Regions from separate parts of the Homo sapiens genome. Here regions 2, 3, 4, 5 and 6 are each linked to region 1. Evidence: promoter capture Hi-C in human tissues and cell types (Jung and others, 2019). All regions are on one chromosome and are shown on one strand. Each heading gives the region's core, a stretch centred on a gene start or on the middle of the fragment in contact. The rest is flanking DNA. Distances are from core to core; before and after follow the strand shown.

The links. Contacts are between HindIII fragments. The study calls those that stand out against the background at their distance.
Region 2: a fragment that was not itself captured here is called in contact with the fragment with the promoter of ADPGK in region 1 in 3 of the 25 tissues and cell types used here (IMR-90 fibroblasts, aorta and dorsolateral prefrontal cortex).
Region 3: a contact is called between a fragment that was not itself captured here and the fragment with the promoter of ADPGK in region 1, in 2 of the 25 tissues and cell types used here (dorsolateral prefrontal cortex and mesendoderm cells).
Region 4: a fragment that was not itself captured here is called in contact with the fragment with the promoter of ADPGK in region 1 in 1 of the 25 tissues and cell types used here (mesenchymal stem cells).
Region 5: a fragment that was not itself captured here is called in contact with the fragment with the promoter of ADPGK in region 1 in 3 of the 25 tissues and cell types used here (dorsolateral prefrontal cortex, hippocampus and mesenchymal stem cells).
Region 6: a fragment that was not itself captured here is called in contact with the fragment with the promoter of ADPGK in region 1 in 1 of the 25 tissues and cell types used here (dorsolateral prefrontal cortex).

Annotation. Positions count from the first base shown.
Region 1 is chr15:72,782,361-72,786,879 of GRCh38, reverse strand. ADPGK (ADP dependent glucokinase) reads left to right here and starts at 3,122. Exons shown (of 7, transcript NM_001365225.1): 1 at 3,122-3,421. The coding sequence starts at 3,189. It overlaps ADPGK-AS1 (ADPGK antisense RNA 1), which reads right to left and starts at 4,045. Exons shown (of 3, transcript NR_040107.1): 1 at 1,684-4,045. RefSeq lists enhancers at 2,597-2,806, 2,857-2,916, 3,677-3,746 and a silencer at 2,967-3,426. The HindIII fragment of the contact is 4,696 bases long and covers 1-4,181 here.
Region 2 is chr15:73,135,930-73,140,713 of GRCh38, reverse strand. It overlaps NEO1 (neogenin 1), which reads right to left. Exons shown (of 29, transcript NM_002499.4): 5 at 4,687-4,784. Among named protein-coding and RNA genes, the nearest start is that of NEO1, 86 kb to the right of the region's middle. The HindIII fragment of the contact is 5,639 bases long and covers 1-4,784 here.
Region 3 is chr15:73,156,191-73,160,921 of GRCh38, reverse strand. All of the region lies in intron 5 of NEO1 (neogenin 1), which reads right to left. Among named protein-coding and RNA genes, the nearest start is that of NEO1, 110 kb to the right of the region's middle. The HindIII fragment of the contact is 6,272 bases long and covers 1-4,731 here.
Region 4 is chr15:72,327,797-72,332,216 of GRCh38, reverse strand. No RefSeq gene overlaps it. Among named protein-coding and RNA genes, the nearest start is that of CELF6, 9.8 kb to the right of the region's middle. The HindIII fragment of the contact is 4,054 bases long and covers 1-3,955 here.
Region 5 is chr15:73,225,688-73,229,914 of GRCh38, reverse strand. All of the region lies in intron 7 of NEO1 (neogenin 1), which reads right to left. Among named protein-coding and RNA genes, the nearest start is that of MIR12135, 72 kb to the left of the region's middle. RefSeq lists an enhancer at 3,497-4,227. The HindIII fragment of the contact is 4,439 bases long and covers 1-3,941 here.
Region 6 is chr15:73,174,499-73,178,709 of GRCh38, reverse strand. NEO1 (neogenin 1) reads right to left here. Exons shown (of 29, transcript NM_002499.4): 6 at 2,153-2,307; 7 at 283-403. Among named protein-coding and RNA genes, the nearest start is that of MIR12135, 120 kb to the left of the region's middle. The HindIII fragment of the contact is 4,235 bases long and covers 1-4,023 here.

The DNA.
Region 1 (4,519 bases), core at 1,873-4,372:
AAGTGAAAATTCCGGGCCACTATGTTGTCACATCCCCTCAAGCTACAACCCGGTTCCCAGTCTGTGTAGGAAGTTCTATTACTATCAAGAAACTCTCATGTTCTTCTTACTGCTTTGCTGCTGACGTTCCTCTCATCTGGCTCCTGTGCCTCAACACCCCTGCCTCTCCCCTGCACTGGCCAGAGGCAGTCCATCCTCTGAGCACTTCTAGTCCCCTCCTGACCTCACATTAGTGAGGAGGATGTCTGATTGCCAAGGGCTATGGCTACAGACACAAAGCTTTCTCTTTTCGGGGGCTGGGATCCTTTATTCCATCTCTTCAATCTCTTTGGAGTTTTCTGTAATCTTCAAAATTGTGCTCTGACTCTGGCCTTTGGGCATGGCCTGTGGTGGGCTGTGTCCCTGGCATCAACAAAGGCTTTGACACAGTGTGGCCTTCAAAGAGCAGCTTGGATGAAACCCCAGAGGCCTGGAGCTGCAAGGAAAGTGGGTTAGCCCAGCTTTCACAGGGACCATTTGGTCCCACTTTAGTTTCTGCTCCACGTGGGAACAAATGTGCCCCTTAAGGCCTTTCAGATTGCGGGGGTGACGCTGATGGGTATTTATGTTAAAGCCAAAACCTTCAGCTAATTTGGAAGCTGACAGGATTCTGCTAATTCTTTGTGTTCATACAGGATCTGCTCCCTGGCCTTCCAGGTCAGGATCTTGGGTGGGGCACCTGGAGCCTCCATTTGCCTCTGAATTTTCTAGAACCAAATTGCTTTTCTTCTCTCATTTCAAGGTCCTAGGAGAGAGAACCAATAGGAAAGGCCATGTCTGGAAGCAATTTGGGTGGGGGCGGGGGGTGTCTTGAGGCCTGCCCAGCCCAGCCCTTTCCTCTTTGTTCAGCCTAGGCAAAGGAGCCACAGCTGCCCACTCAGAGCTGTTTTAATTGTCCCCAGAAACCTAACTTCTAGAAAAACAATTGGCTTGCAAAGGATTCCAGACTCTCTGAACAGATAGATGATCAGAATCTTTTCTGATTTTCGTTAAGGAAATATTTCAAGAGGGACTGTGGCACCAAGACAGTGAATGCCTGCCCCTGAGCCCCGATGAGAAGGAATTAAGGGCCCTGTGACTCTGTATGTGACCAGAAGCCACATCAGGCTCCGCCAGGCCTGGCAACTGTCCCTGGTGTTCTGTTCTTCACCTCCTGCGGCTCCTGACTCTTCAGTTCTCAGTTGGAATTGAGGTCAGCTCTCTCGTTTCCTTGTCTGGCCCCCTTCACCACCCACAATGCAAACCCACACTGAGTGACTAACCAGCAAGAGGCCCACAGCAGGTCCCATAGCAACCAGAGGGGGCCAAGCTTGCTACCACAGCCCACAACATGCCAACACCCCATTTAGACTTTTACATGAGAAATAAACATCCACTTTGTTCAACTGCTGTTGTTTTGTCTCTGTGACTAAATCAACAATTCTGGCAAATCTAGAAAGAAGCAGAAGAATTAGGTGCAAAGTGCTGGAAGTTTAGCAGCCTCTCGTGGGAGCAAGAAAGCCCCAGGCAGGTTTCTGTCCACATCACTTTAATGTGGAGCACTCTCCTAGTCCTCTAGATCTGTCTGTTCTATCACCTTCCCACAGTTCAGCTTCCTGTGCTCCCCAAAACTTCACCTTGGAAACATATTTAACTGGTTCTGACCTTTAGCCTTGTGTGACTTTGTGGGTCCACAGCCAATATCAAATAACTACAGACAACAGAAACTTGGTTAAAATTCTCAATAGAGGGAAATGATCGCTGGACAGTCAGCAGACTCGCTGTTTTCAGGTCAGCTGCTGGCTCAGTCCCCTCTGGGTGCCAGGGAAACCTGACAGCTGAGGGTTGTGAGAAGAAGCAGTTTCTCTAGGAACTGACTGACATGTCTCCCTAAGGAGAGAGAAGTGACAGGCAACTCTAGGGAAGATGGCTTTCATGGCTTCATAAAGATCTGACTGGCTCTTTGGCTTCTTTTCCAAGGTAGCCCAAATCTGTTCCTGTGTGAATATCTTTGTCGAAAGGGATGGCATGGTCAGGTAGGCTGGGTAGGATGAACTGCGGGAAGGTAGATGACCAGGATGGGGAAGTTCTGATGAGGTGGGGCTGAGGAGAATGAAGACTAATGCCCAAGATCAAAGTTAGGGAAATAAAGTTTCGCTGCCAAGTCCAAAGGTCAGGGTCACAGTGGAAAACTGGACACAAAGCCAAGGTCAGGAGCCGAGAGAATTGGAAAAGTGGAAACAAACCAGGGAACAAGACTAGGCCGGGCATTGTGGCTGATGAGAATGAGCTGGTACCCAGCCTAGCTTCACTGTCTCTCAACCTAGCCTCATGCACAGAAAAGTATCAGCGAAGAGAGGGCTGGGTTTAAGTGATGTCACCAAGGGGGAACAAAAGAAAGCAGCGTTTCTCAACCCAGGTCCATAACTCTCGTGTTGTGCACAAGATTGTGTACATTTTCCAGAGTTTGTTAAAGGGAACAGCGCCCCCAAAAGGGTTAAAGTTTGATTGTGGAATAATCTGGTTATCCAGAAGAGAACGATCTCTGCGGGCTCTCCTGTCTCGACGAAGTCCTTTAGTGGCTGAGGGTCTCGGCCACCTTCCAAAGGGGCGGAATCCCCCTGCCTCGCGTACCCCAGGGGTCTCGGCAGCGCCGCTATTCTGTGAGCCTATTCCTCTCAGAAGCGCCGAGCACTAGGCCTGGAAGAGGACAAGTCTAGCAAATGAGGGGACACGGGCGGAGGGAGGGATTAAAAGATGGGGGTGTGATCCGTGCCAATGGGGACACCCACTGGTTCGAATATTAACGCGAGGTTTGTCCGCTTCTTCACAATCTGTCCGTTTCGTTTTACTGCGAAAGCAAATGTGTTCCCATCCCTCTATTTGGGGATACGATTAGAGTTCCGGGAAGGGGGTGCAGCGCCCGGACTGGCACAACCGCCGTTGTCCCACCTCCTCCGGGGCGGCAACACCGCAGTGCCAGGCCTGGGACTGAGGCGTGGGGTCCCCCCTCGCTCCGTCCTGGCGCCGCCCGTCGCCCCGCCCCTTGGGGGGCCCCGTGGCGCACCCTTGTGACGTAGCGCTTGTGTCGACATCGGCGCGCGCCGAGCCCGGAAGAGGCGCGGGCTAGGAAAGGAGTTGGTTCGCGCAGGTGCGGCGCCTGGGTCCCCATGGCGCTGTGGCGCGGCTCCGCGTACGCGGGCTTCCTGGCGCTGGCCGTGGGCTGCGTCTTCCTGCTGGAGCCAGAGCTGCCAGGCTCGGCGCTGCGCTCTCTCTGGAGCTCGCTGTGTCTGGGGCCCGCGCCTGCGCCCCCGGGACCCGTCTCCCCCGAGGGCCGGTTGGCGGCAGCCTGGGACGCGCTTATCGTGCGGCCAGTCCGGCGCTGGCGCCGCGTGGCAGTGGGGTGAGTGCCAACGGGGCCTGGGTCTCTGAGCCTCCGAGGTCGGCCTTGGAGGTCGGGCGGAGCCGCGCAGAAACAGGGCTTCTCAGAGGTCCCCGGGAGGCGCTGCTGTCCGCGCTGGCCCCTTGGCGAGAAGTGTCGGACGTCTGAGTGGAACCCGGTTCGTCACCGCTGCTCTTTCCACTCGGCTGGCCTCTGCGCCTTTCTCTCATCCCGGTAGGACCAGCCCTAACAGCTTCTTGCTAATCCCGCTTTGTCTGACACCTTTCTCCGAGCCTTCTTCCTCGTTCCAACTTTTAGCCCCTTCTCTTCTGGCGACTGTTGTTTTGCAATCAAAGATACTTGACCTTACCCACTATGACAACACTCTTCCTCTTTCTTCTGAACTTCTTGAAGACGCGTGATGTCTGCCTTTACCCACTTTCGAAACGCCGTGTAGTCTAGAAACCACACGACTGTACTGCAACTCCTCTCAGATTTGCCTTTTTGAATCTTCATTATCTACTCTGCAGCCTTCCACGCATTGAACACGCCCTTCTCCGTGAAATTCTTTTCTTCCCCTGACTTCAGTGACACTGCATATTTAAGGTTCTTCCAAATGACACTACCTCCTTTCTTTGTACTTTTCCTTGGGAATGTAATTATTTTCTTTATAGTATTGATACTGTAAACACTAACTTTAGTCCCTGTCTCAGTTCGATTTGACTTTCTTGCCGTAATCTCAGAGTTATGTATAACCACCACATAAAAGCAGGCCCTCTACCATGTAGCTCACTACTTTCTGTGGAGTGTTGGGGCCGGGAGGGGTAAAGTAGAGCAAACTTGGCCTGAAGATTAAATGACATCATTCATGTAATCTCTCTAGCATAGTGCCTGCTTTAAAAAGCATTCGATATTAGCTATAATTTTGGGGTTTTTTTTTTTTTTTTTTTTTGGACACAGGGTCTCTCTCTCTGTCGCCTAGGCTGGAGTGCAGTGGTGCAATCACTGCTCACTGCAGCCTCGAACTCCCGAGCTCAAGAGATCCTTCTGCCTCAGCCTCTGGAGTAGCTGGGACGACAGGCAAGCACCACCACGCCCAGCCAATTTTTTATTTATTTT
Region 2 (4,784 bases), core at 751-3,250, 350 kb before region 1:
TGTATTTTGATGGAGATTTGAATTATTCCCAGTAAGAACATTATTGTGCATGGTTTTGGGGGCATATAATTATACATTTCTGGTAAGTATACTCCTAGGAATACAACTACTATATCATAGGGTATTTCTGTGTACAGTTTTTTTAAGTTTTTATTTTTTAGAGATGGTTTTGCTTTGTCACCCAGACTGGAATGCAGCGGCACAATCGTAGTTCACTGTAACCTCAAATTCCTTAGCTCAAGCAATCCTCCTGCTTCAGTCTCCTGAGTAGCTGGAAATACAGGTGTGTGCCACTATGCCTAGCTAATTTTTTCATTTTTTGTAGATATAGGGTCTCACTATGCTGCCCAGGCTGGTCTTCAAATCCTGGCCTCAAGTGATCCTCCTGCCTCAGCCTCTCAAAGTGCTGGGATTACAGGCATGAGTCACTGCGCCTAGCCAGTGTACAGTTTTTAATAGATTCTGCCAAGCAGAATTTTAAAGTGATTGTGTCAGTGTATACTCCTGTCAACAGTACATTAGAGTCCCCAGTGGTTTTCATCCTAACCAATGTCTGGTATTTGTTGAGCTTTTCAACTTTAGCCATTATAGTGGAATACAGTGATATCCCACTATGGTTTTTATTTGCATTTCTCTGAAGACTAATAACGACAACCACTTTTTCAAATATTAATAGCTAGCTAGACATCTTCTTCCAGGTCGATGTTCAAGTCTTTTGCCCATTTTCTATTGGTTTCTGTCTTTGTTTATCTTACTGATCTGTAGGAGTTCTTTGTAAAACCTACATCAGGGATTGGCAAACTTTTTCTGTAAAGAGCCAGACAGTAAATATTTTAGGCTTTGTGAGCCATATGGTCTCTGTCACAACTACTCAACTCCTGTGTAGTGGCATGAAAGCAGCCATAGGCAATACATAAATGAATGAGTGTGGCAGTATGCCAGTAAGACTGCATGAACAATAAATTTTGAAATCTCATAAAGTTTTCATGTATCACAAAATATTATTCTTCTGATATTTTTCAACTATTTAAAAATATATAAACTATTTTTAGCTTACAAGCTGTACAAAAACAAGCAGTCAGGAAGATTTAGCCCACAAGCTGTACTCTGCCAACCCCGGGTCTAGATAAAGATCTCTGTCAAGTAATGTATGTCTTCCCAGGGATTTATCAATATTGTTATGCATTACAAAGAACCAACTTTTGGCTTTGCTGACATTCTCTGTTTTGAATGTTTGTTTTTTTATTTCATTAATTTTTGCTCTTGTTATCATTTTCTTCTTCTGTTTTCATTGGTTTGCAAATATTTTCTCCCATTCCATAGGTTGTCTCTTCACTGTTGATTGTTTCCATTACTGGCAGGAGCGTCTCAGTTCAATGCAATCCAATTTATCTATTTTTGCTTTCGTTGCCTGTGTTTTCTGGGGTCATATCCAAAAAAACGTTGGTCTTTGCAAAGACCAACGTCAATAAGCTTTTCCCCTCTTTTCTTTTAGTAGTTTTACAGTTCAGGTCTTATGTTTAAGTGTTTAATCCATTTTGGGTTGATTTTTGTGTATGGTGTATATGTGATTTACATATATGAGATAAGGATCTGATTTCATTCTCCCACATGTGGCTATCCAGTTTTTCCAGGACCATCTACTGAAGAGACTATGCTTTCCCCATTGTATATTCTTAGCATCGAGAGAGCCAGGAAAAATCCGCACTGCTTTTTCTTTTTTTCCTTTTAAAAAAATTCTCTCCAAGTATGACAACCAATGCACAGCTTTTTATAAGCCTCGGAAGTCACATATGACTTCTGCCATACTCTATTGATCCAAATAGCTCCAAGCCTGCCTAGATTCAAGAGCAACGGACATAAACCCCACCACTCTATAGAAGGATAGTCAAAGAATCTGGGAGCTGTTTTAAAACTCCCCCTTTGTTTTTTTGTTTTTTTGTTTTTTTTTTTTTTTTGAGACGGAGTCTCGCTCTGTCGCCCAGGCTGGAGTGCAGTGGCGGGATCTCGGCTCACTGCAAGCTCGGCTTCCCAGGTTCACGCCATTCTCCTGCCTTAGCCTCCCAAGTAGCTGGGACTACAGGCGGCCGCCACTACGCCGGCTAATTTTTTTGTATTTTTAGTAGAGACGGGGTTTCACCGTTTTAGCCGGGATGATCTCGATCTCCTGACCTCGTGATCCGCCCGCCTCGGCCTCCCAAAGTGCTGGGATTACAGGCGCGAGCCACCGCGCCCGGCCAACTCCCCCTTTGTTTTAAAAGGCTCTTGCAGTATTTCCCAGGTATATCTTTTATTGAGTATTTATTCCAAAAGTGTTTTCAACGTATCTTTGTGCAGCAAACCTTCAGAGATCTTGTGTGATAATTTTTATTATGTCTCACATTTTGGATGCATATAAATTGTGTGTATTCAACATCTTTTAACACCTTAAAAAGATTACGCTATTGTCCTCCCGATACCAGATTTCTCAAATCAACACTTAGGTACAATCCAATCTTTTTCTTTTGTAGGTGATCTGCTCTTTGTCACTGGAAGCTTTTAGAATTTTTTTGTCTTTGATATTATACGTTACTGTATATATAATTATACATTATTGTATGTTACTGTAAATGGGCCTCAAGGTGGGTTTTTCCTTCTTTCACCTATTTAACAGTCTACTAGTCCTTTTAGTCTAAGGTGTTCTACAAGTCTAATTCTGAAAAATTTATCTTAATTATTTCTTCAAATATTTCCCTCTTCCTTTCTCTCCTCTAAGACACCTATTTATCTAGATAGTCCTTCTACCTATACCTATCGTATCTCTTAGATTTTACTCCATGTGTTATCTTTCTTTATCATATAATGCTGCATTCTCAGAGAATTCCTCAATGTAATCTTCCAATTCATGAGTTTGCTCATCAATGTTATACCTTTCTCTGGCTAGGCACAGTGGCTCATGCCTATAATCCCAGCACTTTGGGAGGCCGAGGCGGGTGGATCACTTGAGCCCAGGAGTTCGAGACCAGCCTGGGCAACATGGTGAAACCCCATCTCTACCAAAAATACAAAAATTAACTGGGCCTGGTGGCACATGCCTGTAGTCTCAGCTACTTGTGGGGCTGAGGCAGGATGATCGCTTGAACCCAGGAGGTCGAGGCTGCAGGGAGCAGAGATTGTGCCACTGCACTCCAGCCTAGGTGACAGAGGGAGAGGCTGCAGTGAGCAGAGACTGCACCACTGCACTCCAGGCTGGGCAACAGAGGGAGACCCTGTCTCAAAAAAAATCAAAATAAAACAAAATTTAAAAATGGGATACCTTTCTCTATCATGCAGATTGCTTTATTCTTTATTTTTAGTATATTTTTCATTCTTAATATTTCTATTTGGTTCTGTGTTTATATTTTCTTGTTTTTGCATCATATTGCAAATATTTTTCTTATCTCCTTAAATATATTTATGGTTATTTTTAATTCTTGGTCAGTCTTTTCCAGTAATTATCTATGAGATAGCATACATTATTCACTTGGTTGCCAATCTGAGAGTAATTGTATTATTCAGGTGTTCAGCTTGGCTATAAACTAACGTGCATCAAGGGTACCAACCACTCTGGTAATATATATGTTTGTGAAAGCACTAAAGGCCAGGTCTTAATTGTATCTAAATGGTGAACTTAAGAAAAGAGGAGGCTGAGGCCCCGAGCAAAGAACCCCAGGAACCTCAGAACCACTATGATTTACTCCAATTTGTGGGGCATTCCTCAGGCAACAGTCCCGGTCAGAGTTTCATTCTTAGGAGTGAAACAGCACTCCTAACTCTTAGGGAGAAACAGCACTGGGAGCAGTCTTCCTAGGTTGAAAGCTACCAATCTGGGAGTTTTGAGGGGGTGGGAAGAAGAGGTAGAAAAGTGACCTTTGGTCACTTTAGTCACCTCTAGCCAGCACTTGAGGGTACATTTCCATATGGAGGAATGGCACAGGAAATGGGGATAAAAACAAGACTATGTAGTCATGCCATCTTTATTTTCTGACGTCTGAATCAAAGAACCTATAAGGGGAAAAGGGAAGAGTAGGAGAAAAAGGAAGAACAACTACCCTTGCAGTGATTATCAGAAGTATGAAGAGAGGAAAATAAACACCAAATCATCAAACCAAGTTATATTGAGAGGCACAGTGTACTCCTTCCTGGGTGATCTGTTCACCCAAAAGAAAAGGACACCAACAGAGAGGAGAGAAATAATTCGGGGTCACAGAACAGAGACGTCTTCATCAGAAAACATCCTGAGACAAGAAAAGTGAATCTTCCAGATGCCCCAGATCATACCCTTCCTGTCACCACCACCACCACCACCACCACTACAAATAGTAACAACAATAACTAACATTGAGCTTTCACAATATCCTAGTCACTATTCCAGGGGTTTTATAAGTATTAGCTCTTTTAACCCTCAAATCATCCCAATAAGGTAAATATTCTTATTATTTCCATTTTACAGCTGAGGAAAATGAGGTTGAGAGAAATTAAATAAGTTTCCTATAGTCATATATCTAGGAAATATAAGATTTAGAATTTAAACCCAAGCAGTCTGGTCTAGGAGTTATGCTTTTAATTGTTTTGCTGTATTGCCTCGCCCATGTTAATATTTCTTAAAAATTAGCAGACCCAGAAAGTACACAGGATTTTTAAATTATACAGTAAATATTTACATACCTTGCACTGTAAGCTCTGCTTGAGCTTCAATTGTCTCATTTCCATTATCAGCTATACAAAAATAAGTCCCAGCATCATCCTCAGTAACATCACTGATC
Region 3 (4,731 bases), core at 1,745-4,244, 370 kb before region 1:
CTCCATTCCCCAAACTCCAGAAGGGGAGATGAGCTCAAGGTTCAATTGATCACCAGTGGCCAATGATGTAATCAATCATGCCTACACAATGAAACCTCCATAGAAACTTATAAGGACAGGGTTTGGGAGAGCGTCTAGGTAGCTGAACTCATGCAGGTTCCTGAAGGGTGGTTCCCAGAGAGGACATGGAAAGTCCATGCCCCTTCCCACGTACCTTGCCCTATGCTGTTTAACACTTTGTAATATCCTTTATAATAAACGGTTAAATTTAAGTAAGCATTTCCCTGAGCCCTGTGAGCCACTCTAGCAAATTAATAAAACCCAACAAGGGGATCATGGGAACCTCAATCTGTAGCTAGTCAGTCAGAAGTTCTGGAGACCCAGACTTGGGACTACCACCTGAAGAGAGATGGTAGTCTGGTGGTCCTGAGCTCTCAACCTGTGAGATATGACACTCTCTCCAGTGCCATATCTCTACATGGAAATGGTGAGGAGGCAAGAATATACATATGAAATAAACTCGGTATTTAGTAAGTAGTACTGTTTCTATTAGAAAAATAGAAAGGTAGGTAGTGTCAGAACTGAACTGAATTATAGGACATACAGCAGGTGTCCACTGAAGTACTGCTTGGTGTGTGGGGAAATAACCCCCACATTCTGGGATCACAGAGGTTTTCTGCGTTGAGCAGAAAGTAGAGAATAGGAAAAACAACAGTTTGGTGTTTTGGGGTTTTTGTATATTCAAGAGGACTACATAGAAAAATTAAAAGTATACATAATTAAAAACTATCATGAAGTAAAAAGACAATGAACAGGGGGAAAACAGATAACAGAACTAATTTCCCTAATATATACAAGTTCCAACAAATTAATAAGAAAAAAATTACAAATAAAAACTGAGTAAAAGATATAGACAGTGCACAAAATGAAAATACACAGAATTTCCTAATATATGAGAAAAGATGTTGAACCTCACTCATGTAAGTAATATGCAAATAACAAGAGTATGAGAAACGGGCAGTCTTATATATATTGGTGATGATATAAATTGATACAATCTTTTATAGGGTGATTTAGTAATATCTATAAAAATCTAAATTGTATAAACTCTTTGATACAGCAATTTCACCTCAAGAGATTCATCTATCAGAAACACTCACACATTTGCATAAAGACATAAGGATATTCCCTGAACACTGAAGCAGCAAAAGATTAGGAACCACCAAATAGTAAGCTATTTTAACCACAGTCCATCAAGACTGCTGCTGCTTCCATGTTGACTTGCCCTTATGCCAGGTCATGATGGAGTGGCTGAAGTCATTTTTGTACTTAAGAGAAGTCAAGAGGAAATTGAGCTACATATACCATTAGTGGGTTTAGTGGGATATATTTATGTGGTTTTCGCCAAAACTTTTGTGTATACCTAAACTGTCTCAGTATAGGAAGACTTCCAGGAATACTCCTTCTGCCCACTGTACTAACAGGACCCAACACCGAGACACAAAGGTGTGGAGTCATATTCAAATGACTATATCTTAAACACTGGAGGAAAAGACCAAATTAGCTTTCTATTTTCATAGAAAATGACTTACAAAATCACTGACATATGAGGAGACAATGAAACAAAATGCAGCAAAAACAAATATTACAACACATACGTGTATAAGGTAATATTTTTAAAGTGCTGTTTTTTCTGGGTTTTGGTAACGTTTGTAGTGTTTATCAGCTTTGAAAAACTAGTTTATTGTGCTTTCTTTTCTCGTTCTAAATAACTACTCATTTTGTACATAGTTTGGTATTCACTGTCTTTTTAAAAAAATTTTTGAGACAGAATCTTGCTATAGTTGCCCAGGCAGAACTCAAACTCCGGGGCTCAAGCAACCCTTCTGCCTCAGCTTCCTGAATAGCTAGGATTACAGGTGTGTATTACCACACCTCGCTACTCACTGTCTTAAACAAGGCCTCCAAAGTAGTTTTCACTGCAGACCTCAAAAAAGCTGGATCTGCTCCTGATGATGACAATCTCTAAGATTGCTTGTTACACCTATTATGCTATTTTTACACACTTCTTTGCTTGAACAGGCATAGAATATCTCTAGAAGGATAAGAAAAAAATAATGGTTGCTTCTGTGGAGGAGGGCTGGGACATAGCAGTAATATTTCACTATATATCCTTTCTAGAACATCTTCATATGTTATCTATTAAAAATATTTAATTAAAAATAAAAGTGAGGACAGGTGTGATGGCTCATGACTGTAATCCCAGAATTTTGGAAGGCCAAGGCAGAAGGAATGCTTGAGGCCAGGATTTCAAGACCAGCCTGGGTAACAAAGTGAGATCGCCATCTCTACAAAAAAATACAAAAATTAGCTGGGTGTCGTAGTGGTCCCAGTTACACAGGAGGCTGAAGCAGGAGGATTGCTTGAGCCCAGGAAGTCAAGGCTGCAGTGAGCGATGACCACACACTGCACTCCAGTCTGGGCAACAGAGTGAGATCCTGTCTCAAAAAAATGGTAATAATAATATACACACACACCTGGCTACAAAGACTTAATTCTGTAAATATATCAATCACAATTCTTTTGAAATGAATCTGTAAAGTCAATGAAATGCCATTTAATATCCCAGGAGAAATTTTATCAAATTTAACAAGCTGAATCTGCAGGCCATCTAGAAGAAAAAATTGTAAAAAAAAAAAAAAAAAAAAAAAAAGAGTCTCACTCTTTCTCCCAGGCTGGAGTGCAGCAGGACGATCTCGGCTCACTGCAACCTCTGCCTCCCGAGTTCAAGCAATTCTCCTGTCTCAGCCTCAGGAGTAGCTGGAACTACAGGCATGCACTACCAAGCCAGCTAATTTCTGTATTTTTAGTAGAGATGGGGTTTCACTATATTGGCCAGGCTGGTCTCAAACTCCTGACCTCAAGCGATCCTCTTGTCTCAGCCTCCCAGAATGCTGGGATTACAGATGTGAGCCACCACATTTGGTCAAAAACAATTTTTTTTTTAAAAGAACAATGAGAAGGGATCCTTCCAACAAAATATCAACAAGGGAAACAGTATTAGTATTGATGTAGGAATTGTTAAAGTTTTCAATAAAACAGAGTTAGGATAAGATCTACAGAACTTCAGAAATTTCAAGTTTCTCTCCAAGATGGCTGAGTAGAAGCATTTCCAGCATATCTCATCCACTTAGAAGAACAAAAATTGTGTGTAGACAATCACACTTTAAATATATTATCCAAGAGGGAGCATGGGAGTTCAAGAGAAAAGCAAAAGGAAACTTCAACATCTGAGAAGAAGGAAAACAGGTAACCCGTGTGGCCAGGACTGGCTGAAAATCAGGAATGTATCCCCAGTAGGGGAGAGGGTGAGTGAGTGTATTTCTGCAGTCCATGTTTCCACAGGGGAATTGTACAATCCAGGCTGTAGGAGAGCACCTTGACCCTCCTGAATCCTGGATCTCACCTGGGGAGTGACTGGACAAGGAACTGCTCCAGGGACGTCCCATACATTCCATCAGATATAGGCAGCTACAGTAAGAGGCCATTCTCAATCCCAGCTCTTAACAAGCTGTGGATGGTCCTGGGAACAAGTGGCAGTGCCAGGCTTTGGTGTCAGAAATTCGGGCTGGGGCTTGAAGAACTGGGACTCAAGCAAGAGTCTGGACTCCTGCAACCAGAACTGAGAAACTGGTATGGGCAGCTGATACTGAAACTGGGGTATCCCCCTACCTGCTTGGGACCTGAGCAGGAGGAGAGCTGCCATGGAGGCTTGGGATTAAGCTGGGTTGTATCTCCTAAGGCCCTGGACTGAGTTGCAGAACACTGCCATGACTGAACAGGCTGATCTGCTGCCACAGTTAGGAGTGGGAGGGAACTCTGCCAGGACTGGGGCATGAGAAGGAAGTAAGTCCTACTTACACAAGCCACATCTGTGGCTGCTGGGACTGCCCCTCCATACCCATGTTAAGACTTCGGCATAGCAACAGTCATCCCTCACCCAAGAATTTCACCAGGGGCCTGAGAACTGCCCTGCCACCCCCGTCAAGGAAGGTAGATGCACCCACCATTGGGAGGCCTGAGTACAAGCTTGCCTGCTCCAGCTCCACTCAGCTTGGCCCCTACTCCGCAGAGGGAAGTGGAGGTTAGGGGGATCCAGGTTCCTGAGAATTCTGCAACTCAATCCACCATCTGGGACACCTGTGCAAGCACTTGTCCTCAGAAACAGAGGTTAGGCATAAAACCTACTGTTGACAATATAGCTGGCTATTACCTGCAAGTGCCACCTACTGGCCTGGAGGCTGACATGCACAGCCCATTGCAACAACTGATAAAACAAGGGCACAACACTTGTGAATGAGAAGAGCTTCTCACTACTACTGCTATTCCCATTGCCCATACCACCCTGGCTTCCCAGTAGGTCAAGAGTCTGCTCACCTGCATGGTCTACCTCTACTACAACAGGCATTTGAGAGAGCCACCCAGTGGCCAAAGAATCAGCCTACCTGGAACTACCAACATGGGTGCCAGCATATACCACATACCAGGTCACAATGATAGACATACTTAGCCCACCACCACTACCACTGAAGGACCCATGAGGCATTCCAGTCTCCAGCAAAACCTCATCACAGACTCCACCAATAACTGCACACTAACACACAGAAAAATCCACAGATTTAACACTAAGGCTATCTGTAGCCAAGGAAATCACACAGAATCCTTAAAGCC
Region 4 (4,420 bases), core at 679-3,178, 450 kb after region 1:
AACTGCAAAAAGAAATAAACAATCTGCTATTATAGTTGGAGTTTTTGACAGCCCTGTATTAGGAGTTAACAGATCCAGGAGGAAGATTGGTAGTGACATAGTTGAAGTGAACAGCAACATGAGTCAACTTGGTCTATATATTCATTTCAAGTTCACACGGAATATTCACCACGATAGACCACATTTTTGGGCATAAAACACTCCTTAACATATTTAAAGAGCTTGAAATCATACATTGTATGCCCCCAAATCACAAAAAAATTAAACAGAATTCAATAACAGAAATATAGCTAGAAAATAGTCAAATATTTAAAGATTAACCAATATACTTCTTTTCTTTTATTATTATTATTTTTTTTTTGGAGATAGAGTCTCACTCTGTCGCCCAGGCTGGAGTGCAGTGGTGCGATCTCAGCTCACTGCAACCTCCACCTCCCAGGTTTAAGCGATTCTCCTGCCTCAGTCTCCGGAGTAGCTTATTAACCAATACACTTCTGAATAATACATAGGCCAAAGAAAAACACTCAAAACCAGCCTAGGAAACATAGTGATACCCCATTTCTAAAAAAAATAAAATAAACAATAATAATAAATTAGCTGGGCGTGGCACACACTTGTGGTCCCAGCTACTCGGGAGGCTGAGGTGGGAGGATCACTTGAGTCCCAGGCAGTCAAGGCTGCAGTGAGCTATTGTGATGGTTAATATCAAGTGTCAATTTGATTGGATTGAAGGATGCAAAGTATTGTTCCTCCATATGTATGTCTGTGAGGATGTTGCCAAAGGAGATTAACAAGTCAGACCCATCCTCAATCCAGTGGTCACAATCTAATCAGCTGCCAGTGCAGCTGGAATAAAGCAGGCAGAAGAACGTGGAAGGACAGACTGGCTGAGTCTTCTGGTCTTCATCTTTCTCCTGTGCTGGATGCTTCCTGCCTTCAAACATCGGACTCCAAGTTTTTCAGCTATTGGACTCTTGGACTTAAGTGATTTGCCAGGGACTCTGGCCTTTGGCCACAGACTGAAGACTGCACTGTCAGCTTCCCTCTTTTGAAGTTTTGGGACTCAGACTGGCTTCTTGCTCCTTAGCTTGCAGATGGCCTATTGTAGGACTTCACCTTGTGATTGTTTGAGTCGATACTCCTTAATAAACTCCCTTTCATATGTACATCTGTCCTATTAGTCCTGGCCTTCTAGAGAACCCTGACTAATACAGCTATGATCATGCCACTGTACTCCAGGCTGGGTGACAGAGTGAGACCCCACCTCAAAAAAGAAAAAAAGACTCGAGAAATTTTGAAAATATTTTAAACTAAATGAAAACGAAAAATACAACTTATCAAAATTTGTGGGATGTAGTAAAAGCAATGCTGCAAGAGAAACCTGTAGCATTGAATGTATATATTCCAAAGGGAGAAAGATATAAAATCAATAATCGGCTTCCACTTCTGGAAACTAGACATAGAAAATTAAATTTCAAATAAGGAGAGAAAAGAAATAATACAAATTAGTCACCCTAGCCTACATAGCAAGACCCCGTCTCTACAAAAAATAAAAAAAACTTACCCAGGTGTGGTGGTACATGCTTGTAAATCCTAGCTTCTCAGGAAACTGAGGCAAGAGGATCACTTGAGCCCAGGAGGTGGAGGCTGCAGTGAGCTGTGATTGCACCACTGCACTTTAGCCTGTGTGACAAATTTGTGGGCATAGAATTCTTCATAATATTCCTTTATTATCCTTTTTTTTTTTTTTTTTTTTGAAATGGAGTCACTACCTCTGTTGCCCAGGCTGGAGTACAGTGGCACGATCTCGGTTCACTGAACCTCTGCCTCCCAGGTTCAAGTGATTCTCCTCCTGCCTCAGCCTCCCGAGTAGCTGGGATTACAGGCACCTGTCGCCACGCCCCACTAATTTTTTTTGTTTTGTTTTGTTTTGTTTTGAGATGGAGTCTCGCTCTGTCACCCAGGCTGGAGTCCGGTGGCACTACCTCGGCTCACTGCAAGCTCCGCCTCCCAGGTTCACGCCATTCTCCTGCCTCAGCCTCCCGAGTAGCTGGGACTAAAGGTGCCCGCCACCAAGCCTGGCTAATTTTTTTTGTATTTTTAGTAGAGACGGGGTTTCACCGCGTTAGCCAGGATGGTCTCGATCTCCTGACCTCATGATCCGCCCGCCTCAGCCTCCCAAAGTGCTGGGATTACAGGCGTGAGCCACCGCGCCCAGCCTAATTTTTGTATTTTTAGTAGAGATGGGGTTTCTCCGTGTTGGCCAGGCTGGTCTCGAACGCCTGACCTAAAGTGATCTGGCTGCTTCGTCCTCCCAAAGTGGTGAGATTACAGGCATGAGCCACTACACCCAGCCTGCGTTATTATCTTGTTGATGCTCATGGAATCAGTAGTGATGGCCTATCTCTGTTTGTTGTTGTTGTTGTTGTTGTTGTTTTGTTTTGAGACTGGGGCTCATTCTGTCCAGGCTGGAGTGTAGTGGCACAATCACGGCTCACTGCAGCCTTGACCGACCCAAACTCAGATGATCTTCCCACCGAAGCCTCCCAAGTAGCTGGCACTACAGGCATGCGCCACCAAGCCCAGCCAATTTTTATATTTTGTAGAGACAGGGTTTCCCCATGTTGCCTAGGCTGGTCTTGAACTCCTGGACTCAAGCAATTGCCCGCCTCAGCCTCCCAAAGTGCTGGGGTTACAGGAGTGAGCCCCATCTCTAATTTTTGACATTAATAATTTGTGTCTTGTTTTTTTCTTGGTTAGCCTGGCTAGAGGTTTGTTAATTTTATTATCTTTTCAAAGAATCATCTTTTGATTTTGTTGATTTTTTTCTCTTTATTTTCTGTTTTCAATTTCATTGATTTCTGTTCTAATTTTTAAAGTTCTGGAGATATTGGAGTGGTCTGAACTTTATGAGATCTTGAGACTAACAAATCAACACTTCCTTCCAAGACAAAGCCCAAATAGAGGAGAAACTGCTGGCAGTAGAATCCAAATAGAACTTAGCAGAGACAATAAGGACAAAAAAAAAAAAAAAGAGAGAGAGAGAGAGAGAGAGAGAAGGTCCAGATAGAAGTAGGTGGCGTAGTAGAGGATGCCTGTCTCGGGAGTCAAAGATCACATTTGTATCACCTATTTTAAGGTAAAGAAAACTCTAAAGCTTTGAAGCTAGAAAAGCTATTCTTGGCCGGGCGTGGTGGCTCATGCCTGTAATCCCAACACGTTGGGAGGCCAAAGTGGGCAGATCACTTAAGGTCAGGAGTTCGAGACCAGCCTGGCCAACATGGTTAAAAAAAGAAAAATTAGCCAAGTGTGGTGGCGGGCGCCTGTAATCCCAGCTACTCGGCAGGCTGAGGCAGGAGAATCTCTGGAACCTGGGAGATGGAGGTTACAGTGAGCCGAGATCGTGCCACTGCACTCCAGCCTGGGTGACAGAGCGAGACTCCATCACACAAAAAAAGAAAAAGGCTATTCTTCCTATTGCTCTTTCTAAACAGAAAAACTCATTGCCCTTAAAAATGAACAATTAGGCCAGGTGCGGTGGCTCACCCCTGTAATCCCAGCGCTTCGGGAGGCTGAGGCAGGTAGGTCACCTGAGGTCAGGAGTTCAAGACCAGCTTGGCCAACATGGCAAAATCCCTTCGCCACTAAAAATATAAAGTTAGCCAGGTGTAGTGGCGTGCGCCTGTAATCCCAGCTACTTGGGAGGCTGAGGCAGGAGAATCGCTTGAACCTAGGAGGTGGAGGTTGCAATGAGCCGAGATCATGCCACTGCACTCCAGCCTGGGTAACAAGAGCGAAATTCCATCTCAAAAAAAAAAGCAATTAAAACTACTCAATTGAAGTCCATACATAAAAGAGGAGGATAGGGAATAATACCATAATGTCCCTGTTGACAGTGAAAGCATGACAGAAAGATTTACCCTTAAAACAAAAGAAAACCATTAAGAAAAGAAAAGGGACTATGAAAAATCAATATAAGAGTGAGAAAAATTCAAAAATGTGATGATTGGAAAAAATAAGATGTTTAAAAGTGAGGTTACAGAACTCAGGAGGGAATTAGAATAAATGAAAAGTTATTTCAGAAATGAAGTCTATTCTAGAAGTTTCACTAGCAAAAATGACAATGGATAATATCTTCAGACAAATAGAAGATTAAATGGAGGTGATCTGCCCTCTTTGGCCTCCCAAAATGTTGGGATTGCAGGTGTGAGCCACCGCACCAGCCATGGAGGATTTTAAAAAAATATATTTTTAAAGAAGAAAGAGATAAAAAAGGATTTGGGAGAAAGTGATCAAAAAACAAAACAAAAAACAAGATAGGCAGAAGATCTAACATATGTATGACAGGATTTCCTGAAGAGGAAAGGGAAAGCAACAGAACAGAACATACACTAAAACTATACTTTCATACCTTTTTTTT
Region 5 (4,227 bases), core at 473-2,972, 440 kb before region 1:
ACATTAAAAAATTATATGCCATGACCAAGTAGAATTTATCATAGGAATTCAAGACAGTTTAATGTTCCAAAATCAATTAAACACATCACATTAAGAGAAAAAAGAAAAACCACTAGTTATCTCACTAGACACAGAAAAAGCATTTGACAAAATGAAACACCCATTCATGATAAAAACTCTCAACAAACTAGGAAAAGAAGTAAAATTCCTCAACCTGAAAAGCCTACAGTGAGCACTGTATGTAATGGTGAAAGATTAAATGCTTTTTCCCTAAGATTAGAAACAAGACAAGGATATTAGTTTCTCATTCCTTAGTACTAAAAGTCCTAGCAAGTGCAAAATGGCAAGAAAAAGAGAAAAAGGAAATACTGATGGGAAAGGAAGAAATAACACTATTTTCATGTGTGAATGACATAATTATCTATGCAGAAAACCCTCATGAATCTACTGAAAAAAAAAAAAACAACTAAAACTAATAAATAAGGCTAGCAAGGTCGGAGGATATGAAAACCAACTGTAGTTCTATATTTTAGGAACAATCCAAAAATGAAATTAAGAAATCAATTCCATTCACAAATTCCACTCACAATAGCATCAAAAAGAATTAAAATACTTAGAAATAAATTTAACAAAAATATCTAGGGATAAATTTTAAGATACTCAGGAATAAACCTAAAAGAAGTGTAAGACTGGTACAAAGAAAAAATTACAACACATTGCAGAGAGAAATTAAAGAAGATCTAAATAAATAGATAGTCCATGTTCATGAATTGAACAACTCAAAGTTGTTAATAAGGCAACTATTAACATGCTAGAAGAAATGCAAAATGCTAGAAGAAATGCAAAAGACCTAGAATAGCCAAATCAATTATCAAAAAGAACAAAAAAAGTTGGAGGATTTCAAAATTTACTGTACTTCAAAATTTACTAATTTCAAAATTTACTGTAAAGCTACAGTAATCAAGACATATGAATAGGCACATCGATCAATGAGATAATTCAGTGTCCAGAAATAAACCCTTATATTTGTGGTCAATTGATTTTTGGCCAAGGTGTCAAGAAATTTCAATGTGGGAAGAACAGTCTTTTCAACAACTGGTGCTGGGACAACAATATATCCACATGCAAAGTAATGAACTCACATCATATATAAAAATTAACAAAATATCTCATAGTCTTAATCTAAGAACTAAACTTCTAGAAGACTTCATGTCTTGAGTTAGCAAAGAATTTTTATACGTTACATCAAACGCACAAGACATAAAAGAAAGTATGCCCTGATAAATTGGATTCTATTAAAAACAAATACTTCTGCACTAAAAAAAACCCAGAAAAAAACAAAACAAAAACAACAACAACAACAAAAAACAACCCAAAACTAAGTAAATGAAAAGCAACAGACTGGCAGACAATATTTCCAAATCATGTATCTGATAAAAAAAAAAAAAACTTATACCCAAAATACATAATGAACTCTTACAACTCATTAAGAAAACAACCAAAGTTAAAAAAAAAAAGGCAATAGCTTTGAATAGTCATTTCATCAAAGAAAACATAGAATAAGCACATGAAAATGACATCATTAGTCATTAGGGAAATGTAAATTAAGAGCGCAATGAGATAACTACTCTGGTGGCAGAAGGGAAAGCAACCAGCCTGACTCTAAGAAACAAAGGTTTTTACTACATGTGGCCTACAGATCTGTATTTTTCATGTTTGCTTTGGGCCCTTGATGACTGGTTGGCATTTATAAAAGTCTTTGATAATTTCTGGACACTTTAATTTTATGAAGACTTCAGACAGATTTTAAGCTCAGGTGTTTTGAGCAAAAGAAATGTCCTAGGACTGTGTAACTATTGCTGTTTTACACTAGGAAAAAAAAGGATGTTTAATAGTTTCAACTATCCAGTCTTTCTTTCAACAGCTTTACTGAAGTATGATTTACATACCATAAAGTTCACCCATTGTAACTGTACCAAACAGCCTCCAGAATAAGTCTAAACATCTCAGGACAGTGTTCAAAGTCCTCCAGACTGGTCCCATCCTCGCTTTCTAGGCTTATTTCCTAAACAGGATGTGCTCTTGATTTGCTTGGTTACTTAACAAGAAGGAACTTTACAGCTTTTATACCTTTGTTCATACTGCTACTATGTTTAGAACAGTATGTAAACACCATGTAAATCTGAATCAAGCCAAAGGCCACTGGGAAATCTATTTGAGAAAAGGTATTACATTTTCAAATGTGAGCATTGCTGTCCGCTCTGACCTGCTGCTCAAATGCTTGGCAGCAGCTTCACACTGGCCCAGTCGCTGAAACCTAAGGGCCTGCACAGGGTTGTAAGTAGCAGAAATTGAATTGTTCCGTGGAAGTTCCTAAAGAATGATGACGTTTCTCCTGATCTGGCTTTTTTGTTTGTTTGTTTTTGAGATGGAGTCTGTTGCCCAGGCTGGAGTGCAGTGGTGTGATCTCGGCTCACTGCAGCCTCTGCCTCCTGGGTTCAAGCAATTCTCCTGCGTCAGCCTCCCGGGTAGCTGGGATTATAGGCATGCGCCACCATACCCGGCTAATTTTTGTATTTTTAGCAGAGACGGGGTTTCACCATGTTGGTCAGGCTGGTCTCGAACTCCTGACCTCAAGTGATGTGCCTGTCTTGGCCTCCCAAAGTGCTGGGATTACAGGTATGAGCCACTGCGCCCGGCCTGACCCGGCTTTATATTGAGTAAGTCATCAGAGCTGCTCCTAATATTTCTGAGAATTAACTTTCAAAATCTAGCTATGCTGTGGTTGACGGTTCCAGTTTCAATACATTAGATTTGTGACTGATAAAGTGTCACTTAGTAACAGTCTATAATTATTAGTTTAACCAATACATGTATTTGAAAGTTTCTGAAGGTGGAGATCATTAAATTCTGCACTAGGCATGTTGCACCCTTGGTTAAGCAGATCCCCAGTTATCCTAATTTGACGCCCACTCACACCAACTACAGCTGTGAGTAGGTACATTTACATTTTCTTTTTGGAATCCAAATTTTGTTCCTTTTTCATAACCTTTCTTTGAAAATAGTTTTGAAATTTCTTTAAAAATTTCTAAGCTCATTTGAAAGGTAGGAAAGTATCATGGGAAATATTCTTTCTCTCTGGCCCTTCATTAGGAATCTACTAAATTGTTATTTCCCAGGAATGTTCACTCTAACATTATTCAGAATTCATTATTCAGAACGGAGTCAGATTTACATGGTGCTTATTACTCCAAACATAGTAACAGTGTGAACAAAAGTATACTTCCACAGAATATTACTTTTGGGAAATGTTAACACATATACCGTAAAATAAAAAAGAGAACAACAATCAAATTTGGGAGATTGTAGAGATTTGCCATGCATATTAGTATGTTAATGACTCCTAGCACCTCTTCTGTTTGTTAACCTAGCATTTCTCATTCTTATTTGATCATGAAATCCCTATTTCCCCAAACAGTAATCCAGTCTGGGGATCCATCCCTGAATTAAATGCTTCCTGAGATACTGTCTAGCAGAGAGCCGCTTTAAAAGAGCCCATGCAGGCATTCTTTGGATCACCATGGCAGACGGGAGAGGCAGGACTAGACTGCAGCTCCGACTTGGACGGACAGAGCAGTGTGCGGAGGCTCGCACTGTGAATTTAAGCTCCAGATTGACTGCAAGAACAAACCAGAAATCCCGAGAGGACCCACAGGAAGTGGATTCTGAAGGCAGTGGATTGCTCATGCAGGACCTGGGAGACACCCCAAATACTGTGAGTGCCCCAAGTGCCCCAACTGTGGAAGTGGGAAAGGGAGATTCTCCTCTCCTGAACACACATCCCCACTGGAGAAACTGAAGGTTGTTTGAGGGAGAAGTTTCCGACCTTACCTGGAGCTGAGTCAATTTAGCGAGCCAAGCAAAATACAGGGGTAGAGGAAGCAGCGAGAAAGGCCCCGGGAGCTCACTAGGTCCCCAGGCAGGCCATTCCTAACTGGCACCACAGGGATCCTTTGGGAGGGCAACCGGAGGAGTGTGGGGAAAAACACCACAGGGAGAAGGAAATCTCCAGCTGAACTTTGTAACAATTTGAAGCTGGGGAGAACCCTCCTGGCCAGAACTCGGGAAAGGGTGCGAATCAGGTGTGCAGACTCCACAGGCTGGGGAAGAATCAAGCCCTTTTCTTTCACAGCTGGGAGGCAGGCAGCCTGGGGCAAGTTCTCAAGC
Region 6 (4,211 bases), core at 657-3,156, 390 kb before region 1:
TGTGAGATTAAGATGACTAAATTCTTTTAAAAATTAATTTATTAAGACTATAATATTCAGTTTTCCTTTTCTTAGTAAAAATTTCTTTTCAACATTATCCAAAATTGTGCTTCTAGGTAATTTTATGTAATAGAAATGATTTAGACTGCTATTCTTTTTCTCTTAGCTATGCCACATATTGGCCTTTACTAATGGGTTATCAATCATGAGTTATTTGGACGGATGGGTGCTTGTTCATCAAGCACACAGCCTCTATCATCTGACTATTTCAGCCCTTCTTACCATGTTCAAGGATTATCAGTTGGGCTCCAGCTTGTGCATTTCCAACATCATTTTCAGCAATGCACTGATAGAACCCTTCATCTGATTTCACCAGACCCAAAACTTGAAGATTATGTTCCTTCTGAAGAAGAAAAGCATAAATAAAATTACATAATTTAATTGATAAATACCAGATCAAAATCTCAAAAATATGCTTTTTGGAGAGGAAAAAAACAAGTAAAGTTTTTATGATCCAATTATTAAATATTATCCAAGTACTTGTTAACTCAATTTCATACTAAAGCATTGGCAAGGTACCAATTTAACTGAATAGAAGAGTACATACTGTCATTCACGATGAAGAACTTAACGCATGGAAAGTCATACTCTCACTGTTTGCAAACTACACCTTTGCCTGGAAAAAGATCTGGCACGCAATACCAACTGACCACAGTTAAAGTCCAATTTGTGAATTTAAGGTATTATTTTTCCTAAGACTATCTATAATATCAATAGTTCTAACAGATTAGACTACAATAAATTAAATGAAGCCATGTGAGCTTTCCTTAAATGAAAAAGTACTATATGAATGTCAACTATTACTACTGGGCCAGGAGCAGTGGCTCACACCTGTAACCCCAGCACTTTGGGAGGCCGAGGCAGGAGTATCACTTGAGCCCAGGCGCTGAAGACCAGACTGAGCAACACAGTGAAACCCCATCTCTACAAAAAATACAAAATTGGCTGGTCATGGTAGTGCGTGCCTGTAGTTCCAGCTACTCAGGTTGGCAGGAGGATCGCTTAAGCCCAGGAGTTTGAGGCTGTGGTGAGCTATGATCAAACCACTGCACTCCAGCCAGGGTGACACAGCGAGACCCTGTCTTAAAAAACAAAAAAAATTTTTAACTACTGTTATTGGTATAATAAATATGATTTAAAAATTTTCTAGTTTCCAAATATTGATTTTAAGAGGCTATTTTAACTATAACAGATTGCTTTTTAATGTTAAATACTTGTAAATTACTTTTTGCAACAGGAGATCATGCATTTCAAAAATAGAAAATATATTTCTAAGAATGTTTACTTGTATGACAAATTTGTAATGAGACATTATGTCTTTAACAACTATAGTTCTGATCATTTTTATGAATGTCATGTATAGATCTCAAGGTATGTCATTAATCTTTATTACTAAAGCTGGATAATTCTATTACTAAAATGTTAGATATTGATGATAATAGTAGGTAATATCTAAGAATCATTTACTATATATAAAGTATAGTAAAAAGCAATTATGGCTGAGTATTCTTAAATACACTTGACACTTTTTAAATGCATTTTTAAAAAAGAATCTTTATAACTATTGCTACCACAATTGTCCGACACTGGGTCATCCTTATTTTGAAGGGTCTGGGCATCGGTATACGATTTAAGGTTAAGTTTTGTATAGTCAGTTGCATTCTTACATATTATGTTTTTCAAAAGGATCATCTTTCCACACTTCAAGGAGAAGTGTGGAAAGATTTCTGCTTCTTGAACAGAGAGCTGTGAAGACAACTGGGGACACACATACACGCACACACATGTGTGCTAATCATCTGCCAGAAAATGGTGGCAGCTGTGTTTCAGAGTGCCAGTGTGTTCAAGTAAGAGTCTAGACTCTAGGCTTAGGTAAGCCACTGACTTGCTATGTGATCTTACATAAGCTACCAAAGTATTTCTGGGCTCAGCTTTCTCATCAGCCAATGAAGGTATTACATTCTATGTGAATTCTTCTATTTCATTTGCAGTACACAAACTAGTATATATAAGATAACTGATCTCTCGGTGACTACATTTAAAAATATCTAAAGGTTACAGAAATAAACACACTTCTTTGAAAAATACTTACTACAATCTTAAAATAATCACTTGGGATAACCATATCCCCATTTTTGACCCACTTCACAGTTGGAGTTGGTTTTCCAGTCACTTCACATTCAAATACAATATCCATAGATTCGTGAGCATATATATTAGTAGGCTGCTTCAGGAATTCAGGTTGAGCTTTAAAATAAAAAGGAAATTAAGACATTAATGAAAATAGAACTAGGCAGCTATTCATATTTCAACCAATTTTTAAATCATAAAATCCACAGGATTTTTACTCATTATTTGAAGCTTTCACATATTTTTGCAAAAGCATAAAATAAATATATAATAAAAAATACATGTTAGGAATACAATTATCTTTAAAAAATGATTTGCTGGTACAACTAACTGTTTTAAAGATAATTTCTGAGTTTCCTTATTTGGAACTATTTACTAAGTTGACTATATTGGAGAAATTAAAAATGTCTAAAAATAAATATTAAAGAATACTTCCCTAAGATTTATACCATTTTTTAAGAGCTATAATTAGAATTCAAAGAGTGGAAAAGATTGATAAAACTTTCCTTTTCAGTCAGCTTGATAAGTAAGAACAACAACAACAAAGTAAAATAAACGTCACATTAGAGTCCTTAAACAGCTCACTCATGCAACACACTCCTATTACTAAGATCCCTCATTATATGCAATGGTTTTACAGGGTGACGGGGAAAGGATAAGTACATTTGAAAAAGTCTGAATATTCCAGTAGCTCCCTTTCCACATGCCCCACAGCTGTAAATTGCTAACTTACAAATAATAGATCATAATATTTTTAATTAGAAGGGTTGAAGTAGATCTAGTCCAGCATCCTACCTAATGATATAATTTCCTATATGACATCCTTGACAAAGGGTCTTAGCGATCTGTATTTGAAAAGTGTGAATGACAGGAACTCCCTACATCACAAAGCAGCAAGCTCCACTGCAGGCTAGTTCTATGAAATAACAACAACAATGGCAACGACAGCAGCTTTATTTACAGTTGACCTAACATCTGCCCAGCCTGCTGGGATTTTGATTGGGATTGTGTTGAATTTGTGGCAACTTGACGTCTTAAAAATATTGTCTTCTTTTCCCTGAACACAGGTTTATCTCTCTATTTAAGTCTGATTTCTTTCATAAATGTTTTACAGATTTCAGTAAGCAAATCTCATTCATGCTCTGTTAGATAAATACCTAGGTATTTCAAATACTTTTGATGCTATTCTAAGTGGTACTTTAAATTTTTTAAAATTTCCAGTTGTTCTCTGCTAGTATGTAGGAATGAAATTGATTTATGTGTATTAACCTTTTATCCTGTGGCCATCCTAAATTATCTCATTAGCTGTATCAGCCTCTGTAAATACAGTTTGGGGATTATCTACATAGACAATCATGCTTGTATGTGAGTAGAGACAGATTTATTTATGCCTTTCCAATCTCCCTTTCCTTTTTTAAAAAAGAACTTTTTTGGCCTATTGCACTGTCTAGAGCAGGCCCTGAAGAGAAATCTAAACTAGCTACATAACTTAGGTAAATGAAGAACAACAGTACAAAAAGGAGATAGAACCCCAGTCAAGCAGAACCTCCCCCAAGGAGGGAAATCATGTATAATCTTAGGAAACAACATACATTCACAGTGATGGAAGATCCAGAAAACATAAATCTGTACAACAAGATGAAATCAGGGAAATCTATTAATAGCAAATTTGACTTGATCCTTTCAAACAATGACAAGCCTTTTGTATTTATTCTTTTGTGAATTATGTATATAAATATGCTGCCGTTTTTCCAATTAGAGTGTTTATAATTTTCTTATCTATATATAAGAGCTTTTGGTATAATGAGAGTTATTATTTCAAGGCTCTCAGCTCCAAATCTGTCCTTCTTTGCAGTAGTGGATATGGACTTTTGTCAGCTGGTGCTTTGTTGCACAGCAAAGCAGAGTGATGGGCTTAATTTTCAGTTTGGAGGATGCTCTTCTTTTTGCTCCTATGGTGAGGCTGATTGTGAAAGACCCAATAATGATCACCCTCCTGTAAGTTTCTCTAGCTTACTCCA